Linked DNA regions of Homo sapiens: all the other regions are linked to region 1. The links are contacts of gene promoters, found by promoter capture Hi-C in blood cells and fetal thymus (Javierre and others, 2016). All regions are on one chromosome and are shown on one strand. The core of a region is centred on a gene start or on the middle of the fragment in contact, and the rest is flanking DNA. Distances in the headings are between cores, read along the strand shown.

Region 1 (4,639 bases), core at 1,521-4,020:
AAGCATTTTCCAACTTATCTCCACCCTACTCCACCTTCAATGTTCTGAATAGCCCTGGATACCCTGGACATGACTCTATAAGAGTACTTATCTCTCTGCTTACTAGATAGAGCTTTCCTGTCTTTCTTAGCAAGAATAGTTCTTTTTCATCATTGCACATGTAGGGCCCAGATTTTTTTAGCACATTACAGGCACTTAACCGATGCCTTAAAATGAATTCAAGTTCACCTTGCTCAGGGACCCACTCAGAGCAAGTGGTCAACAAATGTGGACTCCTTTCCTCCATCTGATTTAGGAGAACAGTCATCTAGTGAGTATACAATATGACAAATATATTCTTTAAACAGAAATGCCAAGGAAGCACAAAGGAGGGAGTAATTAACTGGGACTATACCAATGAGACTATAGTTACCTCATTTGACAGTCTTAATTACTTAGGTTTTTTTTTTTTTTTTTTTTTTTTTTTTTTTTGAGACGGAGTCTCACTCTGTCACCCTGTCTGGGATGCAATGGCATGATCTCAGCTCACTGCAACCTCTGCCTCCCGGGTTCAAGCGATTCTCCTGCCTCAGCCTCTGGAGAAGCTGGGATTACAGGTGCCCACCACCACGCCCGGCAATTTTTTGTATTTTTAGTAGACACGGGGTTTCACCATGTTGGCCAGACTGGTCTCAAACTCCTGACCTTAGGTGATCTACCTGCTCGGCCTCCCAAAGTGCTGGGATTACAGGCGTGAGCCACCGCGCCTGGCCTACTTATAGTTTTAGTTTTCCAGAAGCACTAATAGAGCCATCTGGTGCTCCTTCCACCGCACTGGGCGTTCCCTTTTGAATCTCTCCACCAAAGAGGAAGCCACAGGGAGCTGCGGGACCGAGTGAACCACCCTACCTCAGGCAGAGGTCCCATCTGCAACTCTAGTTTGTTTGCTTCTTTCATTTATTCAACACGTGTTTATCGATGGTCTCATATGGGCCAGCACTGTTCTAAGGAAACAGGCAAAGGTACTGCTGTAATGCAGTTTACCCATGCAGTGGGGAGAGTGGGGGGCAGATAAAAAATAAGCAACCAATCATGTAGGCTACATTAAACAGTGACAAGGGCTATGAAGCAATCAAACAGGATGCGCTATGTTTGGGAGAGGTGGAGGTGGGGTGTAGGTGCCAGAGACAAGCAGATCACATGGTTGGGGAAAACCTATCTGCGGAGCTGACTTCTGGGCTGTGAGCTGCGTGCCAAGAACAGCCATACAAGGGTTCTTCCAGGCAGAGGGGACGGCAGCTACAGTGGGCCTGGAGCAGGACCCTGGGACTCCTGGTGCCCAGCTCAGAGCTGTCCTACTGCTTCTGGCCACGGAGAGAGAATTGCAGAAAAGGAACAATGCTGGGTCTAAAACTGGTATCTGTTCCTTACTTGGAGTAAACGAGCTGGTACCCAACTTTCAGTTCCCAGCAGGTTCATTTCAGGCTTCTGTTTTCGCTCATGAGCATGTTGTTCCCTCTTCAAAGTCTGATTGGGTTTCAAAGGAATCTGAAACACTTACAGCAAAACCACCAAGCTGCATCCTCCAGGTAGACACCCCCGAAATGTGGCATTTCCGTGGGAAACCACAATGAATCACTCATTGGCTGCCCGACCTCTCTGCCCAGTCAGAGATTGATTTTGGTTTTCCCAAACTTTGTAAATCCGCTCCAGACTGTTTAACAACCCCCACTCCCCACTACACCCAGACTCTCAGATTAGGAGCAAAATCCCAAATTTTGTGAGGTTTTCTGTTTCGGATTTCACCAGAAGGGGGTCTGCCACAGCCACTAACCATTTCCTCTGCAGAGAGCCGTTTCTGAAATGCTGCAAAGAAAAACAATCACCCAATGATTAGGAGGGAAATTAAGTTCTAAAGAAAGACTACTGTCTCTGACTTTGAAAGTAGACATAGATATGCACAATATACATCCCACAAATTAAAATCCTCCTTTCTCTGATGTCTTTTAATGGTAATAATAAGGACAAGCATGGCTATCATTTATTTGGGCGTTTCCAATGTGCCAGTCCCTGTCTAAACATTCAGCTTCCAGATCAAACCTATGAGGGTGGAATTAACATCCATTTCATAAATGGAAACTGAGGCTCAGGAAAGTTGAGCGAGTTACTCAAGGTAACATGAGTAGAAAAAAGGCCATATTCCAACCGGACACAGAGCCTGCAGCCCACACAATTACTCTCCATACTGTTCCTATACTATCCTGACTGGGAAGGTCCTGTTCCCTTGGCACTGGGCAAAAATAAAATTATAAGAGCAGAGAGGAAGTGGTGAAAGGGGGCAGCCTGGTGAAATCATTCCTTTACTGAAAATAGGGGTAACGGCCAGGACAGTGCAGGTCCATCCTCTGCAGATGGAAGACAGGCACGTCCTTTGCCGCTGTCCCGGCCTTAGAAAGGCACCTTCCGCGTCCAGGGTTTTCTGTGGATAAATCCCACCCCTTCCACCTCAGGCGGGGAGGAGGCCGGCCGGCCGGGGCATGGGGCGGAAGGCGAAGGACGCCCGACCCCGGCCGAGGTCTGGGGCCCCTCCCACGCCCCCCTCGTGGCTGCCGGCGGGCCAAGGGTTAAGCGAGGCGGGAGCCCCCGGCGCGGAGCGGCTCGGGGCCGGGAATGCTTAGTCAGGATTCCGATTTCCTGTCGAAGTGTTTGGATTTCCTGAAACCCGCGCCCTCCGCCGCCGAGCGGGATCGTGCGAGCCGCTCGCGTCGCCGCGGCCTCCTCCCCCTCGGCACATGGTCGCCCGCCCCTTCCTGCGCCGCGCTCGGCTCCCGCGCCTCGCCTGGCCTGGCCGCTGCCGCGGGCGAGCACTGTGCGCTGGGCAGCCCCGGGCCCGCGCCTCCCGCCCAGCCGGCGCTTCCCGGTCGCAGTTCGCTTTCCCACCCGAGAGCCGCGAGCGCCCGGCCGAACCCGCGATGGAATAATGCCCAGCGGCCCGCCAGGTCCCGGTGAGTTGCGGGGCGCTCGGGCGCGCTCGGCGGGGCCGGGCGGAGTCGCCCACAGTCGCGGGCGCCCCCTGCCCAGTCTCTCGCGCGAAGAAGGGCGCCGGGACGGGGCGCGGGGCGGGCTCCCGGCTCCTCTCGCAGCGGGGTGTCCTTCTCCGCGGGGAGGGCGCCGGCCCTGGGCTGGGGCGTGTGCGGGACGCGCGGCCAGGCTCTGCGGGGCCGGGCGAGGCCGCCCGGTGGGGGGGGGAGGTCTCCTCGCCTCCAGCTCGGGAGAGGGGGCCCCTGCAGTGGGGCCGGGGACGGGGCCCGCCCTGGGGGGTTTCGCGTCCCCCTCCGGGGGAGGGCCCGGGACGACGTGCTTGGCGGCCCGGACCCCGCCGATGGGGCGCCCTCCCGGCATTGTCTCTGGTGCAGCCGAGGAAAGTTCCCCGCGGCCCCCGGCCCCTACCCGGACCCGGCGCTGCTTGGCAGGCCCCAGGCCACTTGCCTAAAGCAAAAGAAGAGAAACGAAAGGGAAGGGGGTGGGGGGAGTCCTACTTGGAGCTTGGGGTTGGCTCCTGGGCGGACCGTGAAGTGGCTTGTGTTTTCTGCTTGTACCATTTTGGGACCTGCTGCGTTTTCTGAGAGCGACATGAAGTTTCAAAGAAAAAAGAAACTTGCCGGTGTCCGGTTTTCTGCGGTTTGATACATCCCAAGAGGTTCATCTTGGGCACTTCTAAAGCAGTTTCCTTTAATAATGTGGTTTTCCAGTAGCTCAGGGAGAAGGATGGTCAACTGCAGACCATCATCGTTAACTTGACCTCAACTTTACCTGTACTCGTCAGGAAAGCAAAAGAACTTTCTCTCGCATTTTCCCCTGTCTACTCTGTTAGGTTATCTTGGCGTGATTGATTCTGGGATGACATCAGGACCTGGATTGCTGAGTAATGTTTTGGGATTGTAAAAGCTTATCAGTTTTTAGGCCAGGGTTATCTGTATTGCAACCTTCATCCCAAAGCCTTTCTGTTTTGCAATTGTAGCGCGGCCAGATAGCTTTAAGAAAATGCGGGTCTTCTGGAAACACCCAGTGAACAGTTTGGAAAGAAAAAGATCTTTGAGAACAACTGATTCACCCCCTTCAGAGAAGGCCCAGAAAGGTGACCTGACTTGCCCAAGATCACATGGCCAGGAGTAGTTTCCACTTCTTCAGGCTCAGTCCCATGCCCCTTCTGTGTTAGATTTTGATCTGTTAGCCATGAAACAGATTTGGAAACGTCTTCTTTGCGTCACAGCCTTCACCACTTTAGTGCCTTCTCTTCTGTCCTGTTAATGCTGCTATTTTTGAGATATGCACTTATTTCAAACTGCATATTTTGAGATAGGGAGTTAAAAAAAACAAAAATCACCTAACGCCACTAAGTGGATTTGGAGATTCAGCTACCAAATGGATTTGAAGTATAAAATGAGTGGCTTATTATACGGGGAATTACTTTCCCTATCCCATTCTTTTGTGCAAAATAGAAACTCCCAGGTCCAAAAAAGGGCAGTATCTTAGCACATAATGTACCCTCTGATGTTCTCTAGACTTGATTTTCAGCCCTCCTGTTTCTTGTGAGCTAAGCAGCCCATCTATTTTTCTCATGAGAGCTCTGAATGGCTGGTTTTTCATTTTTAGTATG
Region 2 (4,483 bases), core at 1,966-4,465, 350 kb after region 1:
AGAATCACTGGCCTTAGGCCAGGCATGGTGGCTCACGCCTGTAATCCAAGCACTTTGAAAGACTGAAGCAGGTGAATCACTTGAGGTTGGGAGTTCAAGACCTGCCTGGCCAACATGGCAAAACCCCATCTCTACTAAAAATACAAAAATTAGCCAGACGTGGTGGCACACATCTGTAGTCCCAGCTACTTGGGAGGCTGAGGCAGGAGAATCACTTGAACCCAGGAGGGGGAGGTCACGGTGAGCCAAGATCACGCCACTGCACTCCAGCCTGGGCGACAGAGTGAAACTGCGTCTCAAAAAAAAAAAAAAAAAAAAAAAATCACTGGCCTAAAAAGATAGAAGTAGTGGTTGAGTCTTCTATTTATTCAGTAAATATTTACTCTACACGAAACCAGAGAAAAGCCTGGCCCTAATACAACTCTCCCAGTCTTATGGGAGAGTCAGGTAACAAGTAAGTAAACAAAGACTTAATTAGAGATTATACTCAGCAATATGAAGGAAGTCAGAAGTATATAAGGGCATGGGACGCACAATTACTTAATTTTTGAAATGATTCAGGAGGTTGGATTTTACATGGTTTATGGTTACAGGATGCCTCTTTGGTGTAATCTCTCCTACAGTCTCATACATATATAATGCAGCGTTGCTCAGAGACATGGCTCCATTAGCATTTTGTCTTTGACAATTTTTGTTTCCTAGCAGGGAACTGCATCTGCATCAGAAAGTCCCTAGATGGCGATAAAGATGAAATTGCTAGAGAACCTCACCATTGTCTATTATCTATTATCCATTTATTTCCAAAAGGAAAGTTACACTTCCTGATACTGAGCATTTGTTGTTGTTTTCCTCATATGCCAAGCACAGGAAATGCTGCTCTGGCTTTCAGGAACCAGCAGCATCATTTGATGGGGTGAGTGCCTCGCCAGTCCTGGACACCTGCCTTATCCCAGCTCTGCCCCTCATGGCTTGTGACTTTAATCATGCCTCTGAGTTCTCGGCTGCAAAATGGGGACAATACTACCTGACCCACATACTTCACAGAGTTAGTATGAAAATGAAGAGGTACAACTATTCGTATCCATAAACATTTTTTTTTTTTAAATTTAGACTAGGCGTGGTGACTCACGCCTATAATTCTAGCACTTTGGGAGGGTCGCTTCAGCTCAGGAGTTCAAGGCCAGCCTGGACAACAGAGTGAGACTCTGTCTCTACTAAAAATTTAAAAATTTTTAAAAATTAGCTGGATGTTATGATACATGCCTGTAGTCCCAGCTACTCAGGAGGCTGAGGAGGGAAGATTGCTTGAGCCCAGGAGATCAGGGCTGCAGTGAGCTGTGATCTTGCCACTGCACTCCAAGCAGGATGACAAAGCAAGACCTTGTCTCAAAAAAAATTTTTTTTAACGATAAACCTAGGGAAGAAGCTGAGGAATAGCATATATAAACACATTTTGAAAACTACAAAGCATTATACAGATGCAAGGCCATAATAACAATCTCTGTATTGTTACAAAAATAAAATAGTTTCTGAAAACTGCTGTGACTGACACCCTAATTAAGTGTTGATTTGGGGTAAGCATCAGGCTTCCATTGTGTAATAGAATTACGCAATGGGACAAAGATGTAAATTATATAGCCTGGCAATTTAAACCTAAAGCAGATGATAATTTTACTGAGATTAACAGTATTTACTTTCAGAACTAGCCTATCTTATAGAAATAATGGTTTAAGTCAATATTGGTAGGGACTAGTAATTGACAATGGGAAATAGGAAAGCTTACTTTGTACCAAGGAAAGAGGCCAGCAGTAATTAGACTTTTTTTTTTAATATGAAGAGTGTATAAAGCTCTTTTGGAGCCCTTCTGGATTACTAGGTATCTACTAATCTGTGTTAAACATTCAGTGTGGCAGTGTTCTTAGCTTTCTTTTTTTTTTTTTTTTTTTTTTTGAGACGGAGTCTCGCTGTGACAGCCAGGCAGGAATGCAGTGGCATGATCTCAGCTCATTGCAACCGCCACTTCCTGGGTTCAAGCGATTCTCCAGCCTCAGCCTCCCGAGCAGCTGGGACTACAGGCGTGCACCGCCACACCTGGCTAATTTTTGTATTTTTAGTAGAGACAGAGTTTCACCATGTTGGCCAGGCTGGTCTTGAACTCCTGACCTCAAGTGATCTGCCCACCTCGGCCTCTCAAAGTGCTGGAGTTACAGGCGAGAGCCACCGTGCCTGGTCCTAGCTTTTTTTTCTTAACGTTTACAGAAGCAGTTTGCCATGAACACAGTTAAACCATATACCTTAAATAAAGCAATAGTAGTGAAAGTGCCCAGCATGGAATACCTGGCACACACCAGCCACTTCAATGTCACTTTGAATAAACAAAACTAAGATCAAATACACTACTCCCTTAACAGCTTTTAAAAACGAACCCCATTTTTGTGTGTATGTGGAATATTACTATCATTCCTGCTGTCTTGTCTTTAGCTCTGGAGAAAGTTGAGTCTTTTTTTTAGTCTATAAAAATCAGTGTCTATATAAATGTTGTTCAGGCTTCCAATATAACAGATGGTTTGGTTTCTAGAGCAAAGGGTTTTTGGATTTCTCTTTTTTCTAGGTAATGCTTTACGTCCAGTTCTTTCTTCATTATTTAGAAAAGCCTTAATTTTTTTTTTTTTTTTTTTAAGAAAAGCGTCAGGCAGTTTGCTGACTAGAAGAAAAAGTTGTAGAAAGAAAAATTCTATTATATGAATCATTTCATGTTTCAGCTTGTGGCCCAGTGAAGGCTTAGCCTGTACTCTGTTCTTTCTCTGTTGATTTTGCTGGTAGTGGTGTGTGATTTCTCCTTCAGTAGGTTCTGTGATGGTTATAAGGAGTTATTGTTTTAAGATGTGTGTGTGTGTTTGTTTTTCCCATTGTACCTAAATGATCTAAACTCAGTAGCATTCTGTGTTGACTGGCATTTTGTTCCTAAAAGCACACACTCTTCTTACCTTTGTTGTAAATTTTTCTCTGTTGCCTAGGCTGGAGCGCAGTGGCATAATCATAGCTCAGTGTATCCTCGAACTCCTGACTTCAAGTGATCCTCCTACCTCAGTCTTCCAAGTAGCTGAGACTACAAGCACACACCACCACACCTGGCTAATTTTTTAAATTTTTATAGAGATGGCGTCTTGCTGTGTTACCCAGGCTGGTCTCAAACTCTTGGCCTCAAGCAATCCTCCCACCTCAGCTTTCTACAGTGCAGGGGATTACAGGCATGAGCCACTGCACCTGGCCAATTTTATTTTTTTTTTAACCAAATTTTTGAAACCCTACTTGTGAGTTATTAGGTTGATGGAGTTAGCCATATCCAGCCTTTTGCTTTTGTCTCTGTGTGTCATACCACATTCTGATGTGTGGAAGTGATTTCATACTGGCTGTTTTGTATCTGTGAGACTGGGATTAATCTTCCTGCCCCCATTCAATTTCCTTTCTAGGTCCAACTGGCCCACCTTCAACACTCCCTCTAAGCACCCAGACCTCTAGTGGCAGCTCCACCCTATCCAAGAAGAGGCCTCCTCCCCCACCACCCGGACACAAGAGAACCCTATCCGACCCTCCCAGCCCACTACCTCATGGGCCCCCAAACAAAGGCGCAGTTCCTTGGGGTAAGTTATCCTAAAGTCAGGGCCAAAGCTGCTGGGGCCAGGCAGCGTGTGGGGCTCCACTGGGCAGTGGCCTGTTAGCACATTCAGAAAGTGTGCCAAAATGCACACACATGCTGGGTGCTGACTCGGGTATATATGACATGATTCTACCTGTCTCTTAAGGGAAAGGAACATTTTGAAAAATATTTAGGCCATTAAAAACTAAAAGGTGCTGAGCACTTCCTAAATCTTACTCAATTATAATAGCAACTCTGTGAGGTAGGTATTATTAGTCTCGTTTATATATAAGGAAACAGAGGCTCAGAAAAGCAAAGTAATCCATTTTCCTCACAACAGCCAGAATGGTTTTCTTATAAAGTGTAAATCAGCTCATGGTCACTTTTCTCCTTAACACCCTTTTGAGATTTCCTTTTGAGCTTCAGATAAATGCAAGCTCCCTATATCAAGGCCCACAGGGCCCTGCATGATCGGGCTCTTATCTCCTAGACCCTCTCCTGCCACTCTATCTTCAGGGCTGGCCTTCTTTCACTTCTTGGATACACCATCCTCTGCCTCCTGAGGGCCCTCCCACTCCCTGGAACTCTGTCATGCTTTTTGAACAGCTGCTTCCCTTTCATCCTTGAGTTCTCAGCCAGCATGTCTATCTCCCCCGCCCTCCAACGCAGCTTCCTCCCTACCTGTTTTCCCCCAAACACCTTATCACAGAATGTAAGCCGCCCCACTAAAATGTAAGCTCCATGAGAGCCAGAACCTTGTCTTGGTCTTGTTCTCACCAGTGTTTACTGGAACCACGCCTGGCATACAGTGAATATTCAGGAATCACTTGAGAATGAATAAAT
Region 3 (4,673 bases), core at 236-2,735, 370 kb after region 1:
TGAAGTGTTGGGCGCAGTGGCTCATACCTATAATCTAAGCTCTGTGGAAGGATGGGAGGATGGATTGAAGTCAGGAGTTGGAGACCAACCCAGGCAATACAGTGAGACCCCATAGCTAAAAAACAAAAATCATCTTTGCTGTCCCAGCAACTCCTGTCCTAGGATCACTGCATCGGGTAGGGGAGAAAAAATACTTTTTTTTCTTAGATGATTTGGGGAAACTCTGCTTTCTCTCTCTCTCTCTCTCTCTCTCTCTCTCTCTCTCCCCCCCTCCCCTCTCTCTCTCTCTCTCCCCCCCTCCCCCTCTCTCTCCCCCTCTCTCTACCCCTCTCTCTCCCCCTCTCTCTCCCCCTCTCTCTCCCCCTCTCTCTCCCTCCCTCTCTCCCTCTCTCCCTCTCTCCCTCTCTCTCCCTCTCTCCCTCTCTCTCCCTCTCTCCCTCTCTCTCCCTCTCTCCCTCTCTCCCCTCAAGGAGTATCTCCTCCTTGAGTTCCTCAGGTAGCATGATCCTCTATAAACCATTTCCATTTTATTGTGGAACTCTTCTAGGCACTGCCTTCCCCATTAGAATGTTCTTGGACATCACCTGAGACAGCATGGGTATTTCAGATGTCATAGGGGTAACTTCAACTAACATTTCATAGCAAGGTCCCTTAAGTGGAAATTCTCTATTCCAAAGTCCCAGTAGTTGTTGCTGGGAGGTGCTCAAAACACTTTTGCCATAAGCCCCAGGAACTGCTCCACAGGGGGTTATCAAGTGGAGAGTTTGTCCCTGCCAGCACTCTAGCTTCTACTCTGCACTCTGCAGGCTTGGGCATGTCCAATTAATATTGGAGAGCAGATTTACATGCCTTCTGTTTTATAGTACCAGGTAGGGGAAACATTCTCCAGTGTGATACTGTGTTCATTACCATGATACAATCAAATAAAAGAGATGCAGTCGGCCGGGCACGGTGGCTCACGCCTGTAATCCCAGCACTTTGAGAGGCCAAGGTGGGCAGATCAGGAGGTCAGGAGATGGAGACCATCCTGGCTAACACGGTGAAACCCCGTCTCTACTAAAAAATAGAAAAAATTAGCCGGGCATGGTGACGGGCGCCTGTAGTCCCAGCTACTCAGGAGGCTGAGGCAGGAGAATGGCGTGAACCCGGGAGGCGGAGCTTGCAGTGAGCCGAGATTGCGCCACTGCACTCCAGCCTGGGCGACAGAGTGAGACTCCGTCTCAAAAACAAAAAAAAAGAGATGCAGTCAATTCACATGAAGTGTGTTCAAATATACCAACTTTCATCATCCTATCAACCCTTACATTTTTATATTCTAGTTTCAGGAACTTCTTCACCCCCAGACCATTTTACTCTCTCTTGCGCAAAAAGCTTTGGGTCTTCTGCCAAGGGTTGAGCCAAAGGACCCTGGACCTTTTGTCAATCTTTATTTTGATTAGTCTGCCCCATTTTTGCCCCAGGCAATTTCATATCATATGTTTCATTGTAATCTCTACCTTGCAACTTTTAAAATTTCTTCAAACTGCAAGAAATACAGTAAACTGGGTTAGGGCCGTTTAATGTTGGGAGAGCGGAGGGGTTTGGTCCACCCAAGCTTCGATAATGTTGTATTAAGATCTTTGTTGTGCTCACTTCGGCAGCACATATGCTAAAATTGGAACCATACAGAGAAGATTAGCATGGCCCCTGCTCATGAATGACACGTTATTTTTTAACAACAGCAAAAAAAGACCTTTGTTTTGGTAAGCGCAGTGGCTCATGCCTGTAATCCCAGCACTTTGGGAGGCTAAGGCGAGTGGATTGTTTGAGCTCAGGAGTTTGAGACCAGCCTGGGCAGCATGGCAGAACCCTGTCTCTACATAAAATACACAAAATTAGCCAGGCGTGGTGCCACATGCCTGTAGTCCCAGCTACTCAGGAGGCCGAAGTGGGAGGATTGCATGAGCCTGGGAGGCAGAGATTGCAATGAGCTAAGATCACGCCACTGCACTCCAGCCTGGGTGACAGAGCAAGACCCTGCCTCAAAAAACAAAGACCTTTGTTTTAACTGTATCAATTTCCATTTTATTCATTCCATTTCTTAATAACCATCTAAAGATTTCTACCCTGCTGGGATGAGTCCCATGACTCTCCCCTTTCTTTTTCTTCTTAGTTTTATCCTATCAGTGTTTTCTTCACCTTATTTGTTAATAACCATTTTAAAATTTCCACCTTCCTGGGAGGAGTCCTTTGGCTCTCACTTTTGCCTTTCCCTGTTCTCTTGTTAATTAACCTAATATTTTTATTAGCATCTATAAGACCCATGAAGGGAAGCTGAGACAGCAAATTTAATAAGGCTTCTTGAACTGTTCATTTCTGTAGGAGTAATATCACATGGGGTGCCCATGTAGAAGGGGCCCTCTTAACCACACATTTACCATGACTTGGGTAACAGGCATGTTCAGCGTGTGAATAGCCCTGTCATCATAAAGCCAGTCCCACATGCATACAGAGCATATCAGCTACTGCATCTGGGGTGTCCCACTTGACATTTGTAGGTAGAGTTGGACAGTCCCCCTTCTCAGGGTGAACAGACCTTACAGTGGCTTTTATCTGTTCCACCAAGCTGCCAGTTACCGCAGGAATAGCCTCCTGTGTGTCTGGATCATATATACCCATATGCAGTTGTTCAATAGTGAGCTGTGGGTCCCATCAATCCAAACATGTACTTCTACTCTGTAGTGTTTAAAACCAAAGATACTGCCCCTAAATTAGTCACTCTTACAGTGCGTTTTAGTAAAGGTTCCTCAGGAAGCTGATGATACTGATCTACAGAATGAAACAGTTCTTTCGCACTATACCCTCTAGTTTCCATAGTTACTTAGTTTTGCCCCTCCTTCACATTGACTACCTTCTTGGTAACCACAAGTCTCAGAGGTACTTTCTGTTGTCCCTGCGTAATTTTCTCCTTTGTGGGTAACTTTAAGGCTAGTGGACTAAGCTCAGGCAGACCCACATCTGAGCTTAGTCCAGCCTCAAGTCCTGACCCAGCACCCTCTTTTATTTTAGCCATTATAGACAACAATAACCAGGGATTAAATATTTCACTTTTTTCTTAGTTTGCATTTCTTTATGCATCCAGTGCCCCAACTCCTGGGGAGTTGGATCCATCTCTGAATTCCACTGGTAACTTTTACCTTTAGTAACTGATCTCAGCACAGCTGTGGCTTCATACCCTGGGTGACCACATGGCCACATAGGAATCCAAAGATTCCTGATCCCCCACCCTTTTATCCTTTCTCTTCTCAAACCACATGTTTCTGTGAGTCAGAGCTGTTCCAACAAATCCTGCTTCGCTGATACCAAATGTGTGGTGTACGGCTCCCAGCAGACTGATTTTTATGTCGCTATTAATATAAACCTTGATGATCAGATGCTTTGAAAGATCTTTGGGTGTAAAGGACAAAATGTAATGGCAGCATACACAACATGCCGCAGTGTGCTATGTACACTTTTATCACCGTTCCTTTTGTGGATGAAAAGCTATTAAGCAGAATACAGGAAAACACTGGGTTCTTAATGGGATTAAAGCAGTGGGGCTGGGCACGGTGGCTCACACCTGTAATCCAAGCACTTTGGGAGGCCCAAGCTGGAGGATCACCTGAGTCCAGAAGTTTGAGACCAGCCTGGGCAACATGATGAGATGAGACCTTGTCTCTACAGAAATTTGAAAAATTAGCAGAGTGTGGTGGTCCGCACCTGTGGTCCCAGCTATACAGGAAGTTGAGGCTGGAGGATCTCTTGGACCCAAGAGGTCGAGGTAGTAGTGAGCCATGTTTGCACCACTGCACTCCAGCCTAGGTGACAGAGTGAGACCCTGTCAATCAATCAATCAGTAAAATAGTGGGCATCACATAGTGGATCTGAGTTCCTTTAGGGAATGGTCCCACCCTGAGACAAGGAAAGCTGTAGGAGGCCTTGTGGCACACTCACACTAAACTACATGTAGATGTGACCACCACTCATCTAACTCTAGTATGGGTCACCCAACATTTCTGGGTGCAAAACATATATCCTAACTGTACTCAGGCCTTTACTACACACTGCAGCAACATGCATGTTGGATGAAACAACACTGACCCACCAGACAGAAAAGGGCCTTATAGGAGATAGGTGCAGGTCTGGGTATCCTGGGATAAGTTGAGTTTGCTTTCAATGAGCAGCAGAATTCAGAGGAAAATGCAGATTAGAGGGAGTTCTCTTCCAGGAGGAAGGCAAAAGGATGGGAGTCAGCTTGGAAAGATAAGGAGGCTTTGGCAGAGTGAGCCAGGCCAACTCAATAAACAGTGCTGAAGAGAATGCTAAGATGCAGCTTTGGGAAAGGGCCTGTACCCAGACCCAACAGGGCCTCTTCACAATTTTAATACAAATAGAGGCTGAAATGGGGGGCAGTGGCCCTCAGTCTTGGCTGCTGAGGCTCAGGGCACACCTGTGGGACTCTTATGGCCCTCTGAATTTACGGAAGTTCTCTGAGGGCACTTGCAGTTTACATCAATGTGCTATGACTGCCCATGCCTTTAGGTTAGGGCAAAGTAAAACATGTTCTGCAGTGTAGTTGGTAGGTATAGGAACTATTCTAAACACCCATCAAATGAATGAATGAATGAATGAATGAAAGAAAAAGAAACAAGGAA
Region 4 (4,262 bases), core at 4-2,503, 260 kb before region 1:
AGGCAAAGAGAGATCAGGCGATGTCATGTAGTGAAAGCAGAAGCAAGAGATAAAAAAAGAGGGAGGTCCCAGACTCTTTTAAACAACCAGAGCTCACATGAACTAACTGAGCGAGAACTCATTTATTACCAAGGGGATGTTGTTAAGCCATTCATGAGGGATCTGCCCTCATGATTCTATCACCTCCCACCAGGCCCCACCTCCAACACTGAAAATCACATTTCAACATGAGATTTGGAGGGGACAAACATTCAAACCGTATCAACTTTTAAATACTAATCTTGCTTATGTCGCTTCTTTCTAACACCACCAAATTTATTTTTATAATTCGTCTGTAGATTCTGTTGCATTTACTATGCAGATAATCATTACATTGCAAATAATGTTTCTTTCTTTCCAAATGTTAGATATCACTTCTTTCTTCTTATCTTATTATATTGGCTTGACCTCCAGAAAAAACATTGAATGATTGATGATGGTGAATTTGTTGATTATCTTTTATATTTTTTAATGCTGTTGGTCTATTTCATTTGAAGCTGTGGTACTGGGTGCATGAAAATTTAGCATTGTTATATTTCCTCAAATGAAAAGCATTTTATTATTTTATATAGTAGCTTTCTTTATCTCTGTAAGGGTAACTCATCTATCAGCAGGTTTCATTGGCTGTGTATTTTGTGATTTATGGTCTCTTGGTATTTGTTTTGTTTTATTATTGAAATGTAATTCCCATACCTCTAGTTTTTTTAATAAACATGATTAAAGCTGTAAGTTTACTCTCACCTACTGTTTCACTGCATCTCACACATTTGAATGTGCAGTAATAACATTTCATTCTAAATGATTTTAAATTCTATTGTGATTACTTTGAGGCATAGGAGGAGTGGGTTTTTACTTAGTCCAAATTGTATATGTATTTTTAAAAGTTACATTTTACTTGTAAATTTCTAATTAAATTGCATTTTGGAAAGAAATCTGGTCTCTACAATGTCTTGGATTTTGTTAAAACTTTATGGTTTGATACATAGTGTTTATAAATGTTCTATGTGTGTTTGTCTATAAATGTTCTTGTGTGTTTATAAATGTTTTGTATGTATGTATGTACATCCTCTATGTTTTCATGAAGCCACATATATAATTTCAAGTTTGTTCTCAGTTTTCAAACTTCTGCACTCTCAATGAATTGGTAGCTGTTCAACCTATAGGTCTCTTTCTCTCTCTCTCAAAATATCTTCACCTATAGGTTAAAGAGCTACCAATAAATAAATATATTAATAAATAAATATATTAATATATTGGTAGCTCTTGACCTATAAGTCAAAGAGCTACCAATAAATAAATATATTAAATAAATATAAATAAATATATTAAATCTGCTCTTAAAAGTATAGCTACATCAATTTTTCTTATAATTCCATCAATTTTAGCTTCACATATTTTAAACTATATTACAAGGTCTACATAAGTTCATGTTCATTACATCTTATTCATGAATATTTCTACTGTAGCATGCAGGATACTATTAACTATTGCTGTTTAACAAACCAGCTAAAAATGCAACAGCTTAAAAAAATAAGCACTTATTATGACACATGAGTCTATGGGTCAACTGGACAGTCTTGTTGATCTGGGCCAGGTTCAGCTAATCTCAGCTGGGCATGCTCATGCATCTTGATCAGACAGTGGGCTGGTTGGGAGTTGGCTGCTCTGGGACGGCTTCAGTCACATGGCTGGTGTTGGCTGGCTGTTAGCAATAACAACAGATGTAACTGAGCCACAGTTCTCTCATCTCCCAGCAGGCTAGCCCTACCTTGTTCCCATGGCACTGCTGGGGCTCCAAAACCACAAAGGCTTCTTAAGAGCTATGCTCAAAACTGGCACAGCGTTACTTCCAGAACATTCCCTTGCCAAAGAAAGTCACAAACTAGCCCAGATTAAAGGGATTTAAATAAAAAAACAGAGAGAGAGACTTTTGTTAAGAGGACCTGCAAAGTTATTTGCATAAGGAGGGACAAAGAATTGAGCATGTTTTAAAAATCAATCTGTCACATACAATGCTTCTTCTTTCCTCAAAAAATGCTAAATATTTGAGACATATTAATACCGACCTACAGTAATTCCCCCTTATTGGCAGGGAATATGTCCCAAGACCTCCACTACCTGCCTGAAACCACGGATAGTACTGATCGCCATATATATGTTTTTCCTATACATGTATACCTATGACAAAGTTTAATTTATAAATTAGACACAGTAAGAGATTAACAATTGCTAATAATACAATAAAGCAATTATAACAATATACTGCAATAAACGTTATATAAATGTGGTCTCCCTCTCTCTCAAAATATCGTATTGTGCTACACCGTGGGTAACTGAAGCCATGGAAAGTGAAATTGTGAATAAGGGGGGACTACTGCATTTACGTAATATTTCTTTAGTTTTTTCTCATGAAGTCCAAATTTATTATCTCTATCTCACTTTCAAATAGGACAAGACACTTGGCATGTTTTAAATCAAGCTTGTCCAACCCACGGCCCACAGGCCATGTGCAGTCCAGGATGGCTTTCAATGCAACCCAACACAAATTCGTAAACTTTCTTAAAACTTTATGAGATTTTTCTTTTTACTTTTTTTTTGCTCATCAGTTGTCATTAATGTTATGTATTTTATGTGTGACCCAAGACAATTCTTCTTCCAAAGTGGCCAGGGAAGCCAAAAGATTGGACGCCCCTGTCTTAAATCATTAGAACTGCCCCATTTCTAGCTTTTACGTTATTATTGTCTAAAATTTTTCTTCCATTGTTTTATTTAAATCCAAAAAGGTGTGTGTGTGTGTGTGTGTGTGTTCATGTGTAGGTTTTACTCTAAATAGTTCATGAGTAACTACATATTTCCACAGTTTCTTTGTTTACAGTATTTTCTTGAACCTTACTTCTTTCTTCCATATTTGTTTTTCTTCTTGATGAATTTTATCATTTTGTAGTTCTTTGGGCTGTAATTTCCTTTACATTCTTTCTTTTTATTTTATTTCATTTTTTTGAGACAGGGTCTCATGCTGTCATCCAGACTGGAGTGTAGTGGTGCAATCACAGCTCATTGTAGCTTCGACTTCCCGGGCTCAAGCGATCCTCCTACCTCAGCCTCCAGAGTAGCTGGGACTACAGGTATAGCCACTATTCCTAGATAATTTTTTAATTTTTTGTAGAGATGGGAGTCTCTCTATGTTGCCCAGGTTGGTCTTGAAATCCTGGGCTCAAGCGATCTTCCCACCTCAGCCTCCCAAATTGCTGGGATTACAGACATAAGCACCACATTCAGCCCCTGCTTTTATGCTTAAACAAATTTTCTACGTAATTCTAGGGTGGTAATTATTTTATCTCTGCTCTTTGGGTGGGGATACACACACACACATACCTATAACATATATACACATATATATAACTTCAAAGCCAAAATTTCAAACATATTTTTAGGTTGGTGCAAAAGCAAACCTACCTAACATTTTTATGAAAATGTTGGGTTTACCAGCCATCCCATTACTGGGTATATACCCAAAGGACTATAAATCATGCTGCTATAAAGACACATGCACATGTATGTTTATTGCGGCATTATTCACAATAGCAAAGACTTGGAACCAACCCAAATGTCCAACAATGATAGACTGGATTAAGAAAATGTGGCACATATACACCATGGAATACTATGCAGCCATAAAAAAATGATGAGTTCTCATCCTTTGTAGGGACATGGATGAAATTGGAAATCATCATTCTCAGTAAACTATCGCAAGAACAAAAAACCAAACATCGCATATTCTCACTCATAGGTGGGAAATGAACAATGAGAACACATGGACACAGGAAGGGGAACATCACACTCTGGGGACTGTTGTGGGGTGGGGGGAGGGGGGAGGGATAGCATTGGGAGATATACCTAATGCTAGATGACGAGTTAGTGGGTGCAGCGCACCAGCATGGCACATGTATACATATGTAACTAACCTGCACATTGTGCACATGTACCCTAAAACTTAAAGTATAATAATAATAAATTAAAAATAAATAAATAAAAAAGAAAAAAAGAAAAGGTTGGGTTTAATAGTAAGTTGATTTAAAGGAAAATAATCAGTAAAGATTAGCACAGAAAGTGTACAGGTAAAGCAAAAATAATGCAATGTTACCCAAAAAGAAAAAAAAAAAAACTGAAGTATGAGAAACGCCGTTTAAGCCATTCTAAGTTCCCTCCTCCCCCACCACACT
Region 5 (4,422 bases), core at 1,391-3,890, 430 kb after region 1:
TTCTGAAAGATTTTCTACACCGTATAGTAACAACAACGATGGCGACAATGACAACAATAACAATAGCTGTCACCGATGAGGCACCTTCCGGGTGAATGTCACCTATGCTGTCCCACCCAGTCCCCCCCACAGTCCTGAGATGACGGTGACGCAGCATCTCCGCCCCCATTTTGCCTGATGAGGAAACGCAAGGCGTAGAGAGGCTCAGTAGTTTTCCAAGCCCCTGCAGCCAATAGGAACTAAAGGCAGGAGTTGAATTCAGCTCTCTCTAAATTGAGCCTGGTTTTTCCACTATGTTACACTCTTCTTCAGAAACACAAATTAATGAGCGGGCTGTGGTGGCTCATGCCTGTAATCCCACTTTAGGAGTCTGAGGCAGGAGGATTGCTTGAGGTCAGGAGTTCGAGACTAGCCTGGGCAACATATTGGAACCCCGTCTCTACCGAAAAACAAACAAACAAACAAAAAACCCTCAAAAAACACAAAAAGCACCAATTAAGTTATAATAATAACAATAATATTCAAACTACATTATTCAATCCTAAATCCTTTTACTTTCCATTGTGAAAGGATTAGTTACATAAACCGGCTGCTCTTAGTTACCGCACTCTGTTGCTATGATTCTGACATATTGGTTCATTTCTGCAATGCTATTGTGGATATACTGAAATACTGAAAATATACTTAAGGTTCTGCTCACTAGCTTTTTATCCGTCAAGTTATTCTTTCCCTAAAATTCAGGTGAAATTCATATGACACATAGCTAACCATTTTAAAGTGAACAATTGGGTGGCATGTGGTACATTCACTAATGTGCAACTACCACACTTGATTTAATTCCAAAATATTTTTGTCACCCCCAAAAGAAGCCCTATATCCATTAAGCAGTTACTCCCCATTCTCCCCTCCTCCCAGCCCCAGGAAACAATCACTTATCAGCCTTTGAAGCCCGAGGCTCTGCATCTCCCGGTAAAGACCCTGTTCCAACTTGAGGGTTAGCTCTGTGTGTCCCGGGAAGTCATTCCACCTCACTGAGTGGGATTCCCAGCCTAAAGGGGCTAGCTGAGCCTCTGAAGCATCTTCCGAGGGCTGTGCTCCAGTGCCAGGACGGCATTCCTTAGTGAGCTTGGGCGTAGTTTTCCCTTTCGGTTCCCAATGGCCAGAGGTGTGAGGAGACTGAAAAGCAGGTGTGAGGAGACTAATGCCGCTGAGTTTGCTTTTATCACGATGGGATGTGGAGTGGGCTTAATTGCAAAATACTAACAGCAGGACAAAAACTGAGTCTCTGTGTCTCCCAACTTTACCTTCTGTTACCTTTTGTACATAATAGCACTCTTGCAAATGCTCAGCAGGGAAATGCATTTTGGAGGAATATTTTTGAGGGACTTTTGCATATATGAAGGAAATAGCTATTTTTTTTTTTTTGCTTGAAAGCTGTGTGGACCACATGTGCTATGAAAGCACAGCCTTCTTTTTTAATTTTTAATTTTTAAAATCTTGGTTTTTCAAGATTCTTTGCTTGGCCAATGAAAGCACCAGATTCTAATGTTGAAAGTAAAATGTGCATGCTGCTTTCCAGTTATAAAGCATGAAAAACTCATTTTCTTACATAGTCCTCTCAACAACAGAAGATAATGTTATTATTCCCACTTTACAGATAAGAACATTCAAGAAGTCAGAGGTTAAATGACTTGCCCAGAATTGCACAGCTGAAAATGGCAGGCAGGCTTTCCCAACTCCAAAGACAGTGCTGTCTATAGGATGCTGGACTTCTGCCTACCATTGTCAGGGTTGACATCCCGGGGAAACAGAGCAGTCACTACAGAATTGCCAGAGGTTTCCCCGGGTATTATTCCCAGGTTCCCAATGGCTTGAATTGGTCAAACCTATCAGGATCAGAGTGAGCCTAGGCTCATGCTCTCAGCCTCACTGTATCCAGTGAATGGAGACTTTCTCCTCTGAGACACACACATCAGAGTTAGACTCTCCATCCCACATATTTCAGAATTCAGTAGAGTGCAGGCTAGCAGGCATCCAAGCCCTGCCCTCACCTTCATCTATTCTTCCCTGCTTCCTGGACCCCCAAATTTGCATTCCATGTTACGCTCACATCAAACTATTTACAGATCCCAAGCTTGCCTGAAAGTTCCTTACCTCATGCCTTTAACAATTATTATGGTAGGCCAGGCGCAGTGGCTTGAGCCTGTAATCCTAGCACTTTGGGAGGCTGAGGCGGGTGGAACGCTTGAGTTCAGGAGTTTGAGACCAGCCTGGGCAACATGGCAAAATCTTGTCATCACAGAACAATACAAAAATTAGGCTGGGTGCGGTTTTTGGGAGGCTGAGGTGGGCGGACCGCCTGAGGTTGGGAGTTCGAGACCAGCCTGGCCAACATGGTGAAACTCCACCTCTACTAAAAATACAAAAATGAGCCAGGCGTGGTGGTGCACATCTGTAATCCCAGCTACTTGGGAGGCTGAGGCATGAGAATTGCTTGAACCCGGGAGGCAGAGATTGCAGTGAGCCAAAATTGCGCCACCGCATTCCAGCCTGGGTGACAAAGTGAGACCCTGCCTCAAAAAAAAAAAAAAAAAAAAAGGTAAATTGTAACAGTTATGATAATAGTAACAACAATGGTGATTGCTTTCTCCTGGGTCCTATCCATATTAGGTTCTATATATTCGCTATTTCATTTAACCCTCACCATAACCTAACGAAGTCATTATTATCCATTCCATTTCACAGATGAACAAACTGAGGCTGAGAGTGGCTAAGTGCTTGGGCTCTGGAGTCAGACAATCTAGGTACATACCCAGCTCCACCGCTGTCTAATCTGTGTGATCTTGGGCAAATCTCATCTCTCTTCCAGCTGCAGTATCTTAATGCATGACACTGGGCCATGATAAACCTGCTTCATGGGCCTGCACACACTTGGCACCTGCTTAGTACTTTATAAATGTTCAGAATTGTTAATGCTCATTTTATAAGCGGCTCAGCTCTGCCTGCTTCCAAACCCTTTTCCTGCTTCTCCTCAAGGTCATAGTTCAGGACCCAGTGTTTCCCCACCTACTTCTCAGCCCCCACAGCAAGGTGGACATTAGTTCCCTTCCTTTAGGAATGAAGGCACTGGCGCTCGGGTAAGCTTAGAGAGCAGTCCAGGGAGTACTGCTGAAATGGCACCATCTCAGGGTCCCCAGCTCCGAGAACTGGGCCTGGCCAAGAGAAGGCGCAAGGCACCTTTGTTAAAGAATTGGCGGGCTGGGTGTGGTGGTTTATGCCTGTAATCCCCACACTTTGGGAGGCGGAGGCAGGGAGGATCCCTTGAGCCCAGGAGAAACAGGCCAGCCAGGGCAACACAGGGAGACCCACCTCTACAAAAATCTATAAAAATTAGCTGAGCATGGTGGTGCATACCCGTGGTCCCAGCAACTCGGGAGGCTGAGGTGGGAGGATCGCTTGAGCCCAGGAATTTGAGGCTGCAGTGAGCTATCGCATCACTGCGCTACCTAGCCTGGGAAACAGAGCAAAATCCTGTCTTAGACAAAAAAAAAAAAAAGAAAGAAAAAAGAAAAGAAATGGAACAACTGGCTCCTAATCAGGTAACTCAGCACTGAGTATGATGTGAGCACACTCCAACCCCCCTATAGCTGGAGGTGGAGGTGGAAAGACAATGGAAGCCTTTGATGTAACCCTTTTGATACCCTGCTAGAGGACAGCAGAAAGATACTTGAGAGAATGTTGTCTATCTTCCCGAGAAATTTCTGGTTGAATGTCAAGATAATGATAGGATGGGCTTCTGGGCCAGGGGAGCAAGGCAGAGGGAAGGAGAGTATCAGTTTCCTAGGCATGTCCTGTTACAGGGAGAAAAACACAGTATTTTCCATTCTAGATCAGGGGAAAGATGAGGTCTCCCATAATACCTGAAACTGGAATTATGGCGAGGAGCTTTTTATGTGGGAATTTCTGTACTAAATTTAAAGTCCTTGGAGAACCGCTTAGGGTAGCACCGACAGCCCGCACCGTCCCCTCACCCCGCTTTATTTTTCCTCTGGCACAGCACTTAGCACCATAGGACCCATCAGATATTTACGGCCTGTCCCCGCTGCCCCTCCCGGGCAGGGATTTTGTTTTGGTTCGCAGCTGCAGCTCCAGGGCCTAGAACAGCCCGGGCACTTAGTAGGCCCAGTAAGTATCTGCGGGAGGGCTGAATGGGTGCGTGGACAGCATTCCTCTCACTGACCCCGCTGCGAGGTGAGCCAGGCAGGGGCTGTCACCATTCCTGAAGTCCAGGTGAGGGGGAAGCGACCCAGGGATGGGAACCTGGCCGGCCTGAAGGTCTGGAGACCGGGGTTCGAGCCCAAGCCCTGCCTGACAGGCAGTGACCTTGGGGGTCACTCTTGCGCCTCTCGGAGCCGGGTTTCC

The links. Contacts are between HindIII fragments. The CHiCAGO score rates a contact against its expected background, and 5 or more counts as called.
Region 2: a fragment that was not itself captured here is called in contact with the fragment with the promoter of ASAP1 in region 1 in 3 of 17 cell types (naive CD4 T cells, naive CD8 T cells and total CD4 T cells); the score reaches 5.5 in naive CD4 T cells.
Region 3: a contact is called between a fragment that was not itself captured here and the fragment with the promoter of ASAP1 in region 1, in 1 of 17 cell types (total CD8 T cells). The highest score is 5.8, in total CD8 T cells.
Region 4: a contact is called between a fragment that was not itself captured here and the fragment with the promoter of ASAP1 in region 1, in 1 of 17 cell types (M1 macrophages). The highest score is 5.7, in M1 macrophages.
Region 5: a fragment that was not itself captured here is called in contact with the fragment with the promoter of ASAP1 in region 1 in 1 of 17 cell types (activated CD4 T cells); the score reaches 5.2 in activated CD4 T cells.

The regions. Positions count from the first base shown.
Region 1 is chr8:130,441,805-130,446,443 of GRCh38, reverse strand. It overlaps ASAP1 (ArfGAP with SH3 domain, ankyrin repeat and PH domain 1), which reads left to right and starts at 2,770. Exons shown (of 30, transcript NM_018482.4): 1 at 2,770-2,984. RefSeq lists silencers at 2,686-2,785, 2,826-2,915, 2,926-3,085, 3,136-3,215. The HindIII fragment of the contact is 9,673 bases long and covers 1-3,929 here.
Region 2 is chr8:130,091,134-130,095,616 of GRCh38, reverse strand. It overlaps ASAP1 (ArfGAP with SH3 domain, ankyrin repeat and PH domain 1), which reads left to right. Exons shown (of 30, transcript NM_018482.4): 25 at 3,474-3,644. Among named protein-coding and RNA genes, the nearest start is that of ASAP1-IT2, 8.6 kb to the right of the region's middle. The HindIII fragment of the contact is 2,869 bases long and covers 1,781-4,483 here.
Region 3 is chr8:130,066,604-130,071,276 of GRCh38, reverse strand. The region is part of intron 27 of ASAP1 (ArfGAP with SH3 domain, ankyrin repeat and PH domain 1); the gene reads left to right. It also overlaps the pseudogene RNU6-1255P. Among named protein-coding and RNA genes, the nearest start is that of ASAP1-IT2, 16 kb to the left of the region's middle. RefSeq lists an enhancer at 764-1,646. The HindIII fragment of the contact is 223 bases long and covers 1,374-1,596 here.
Region 4 is chr8:130,699,373-130,703,634 of GRCh38, reverse strand. No RefSeq gene overlaps it. Among named protein-coding and RNA genes, the nearest start is that of ASAP1, 260 kb to the right of the region's middle. The HindIII fragment of the contact is 2,535 bases long and covers 1-2,520 here.
Region 5 is chr8:130,016,886-130,021,307 of GRCh38, reverse strand. It overlaps a transcript of CYRIB not described here. Among named protein-coding and RNA genes, the nearest start is that of CYRIB, 2.5 kb to the right of the region's middle. The HindIII fragment of the contact is 1,008 bases long and covers 2,137-3,144 here.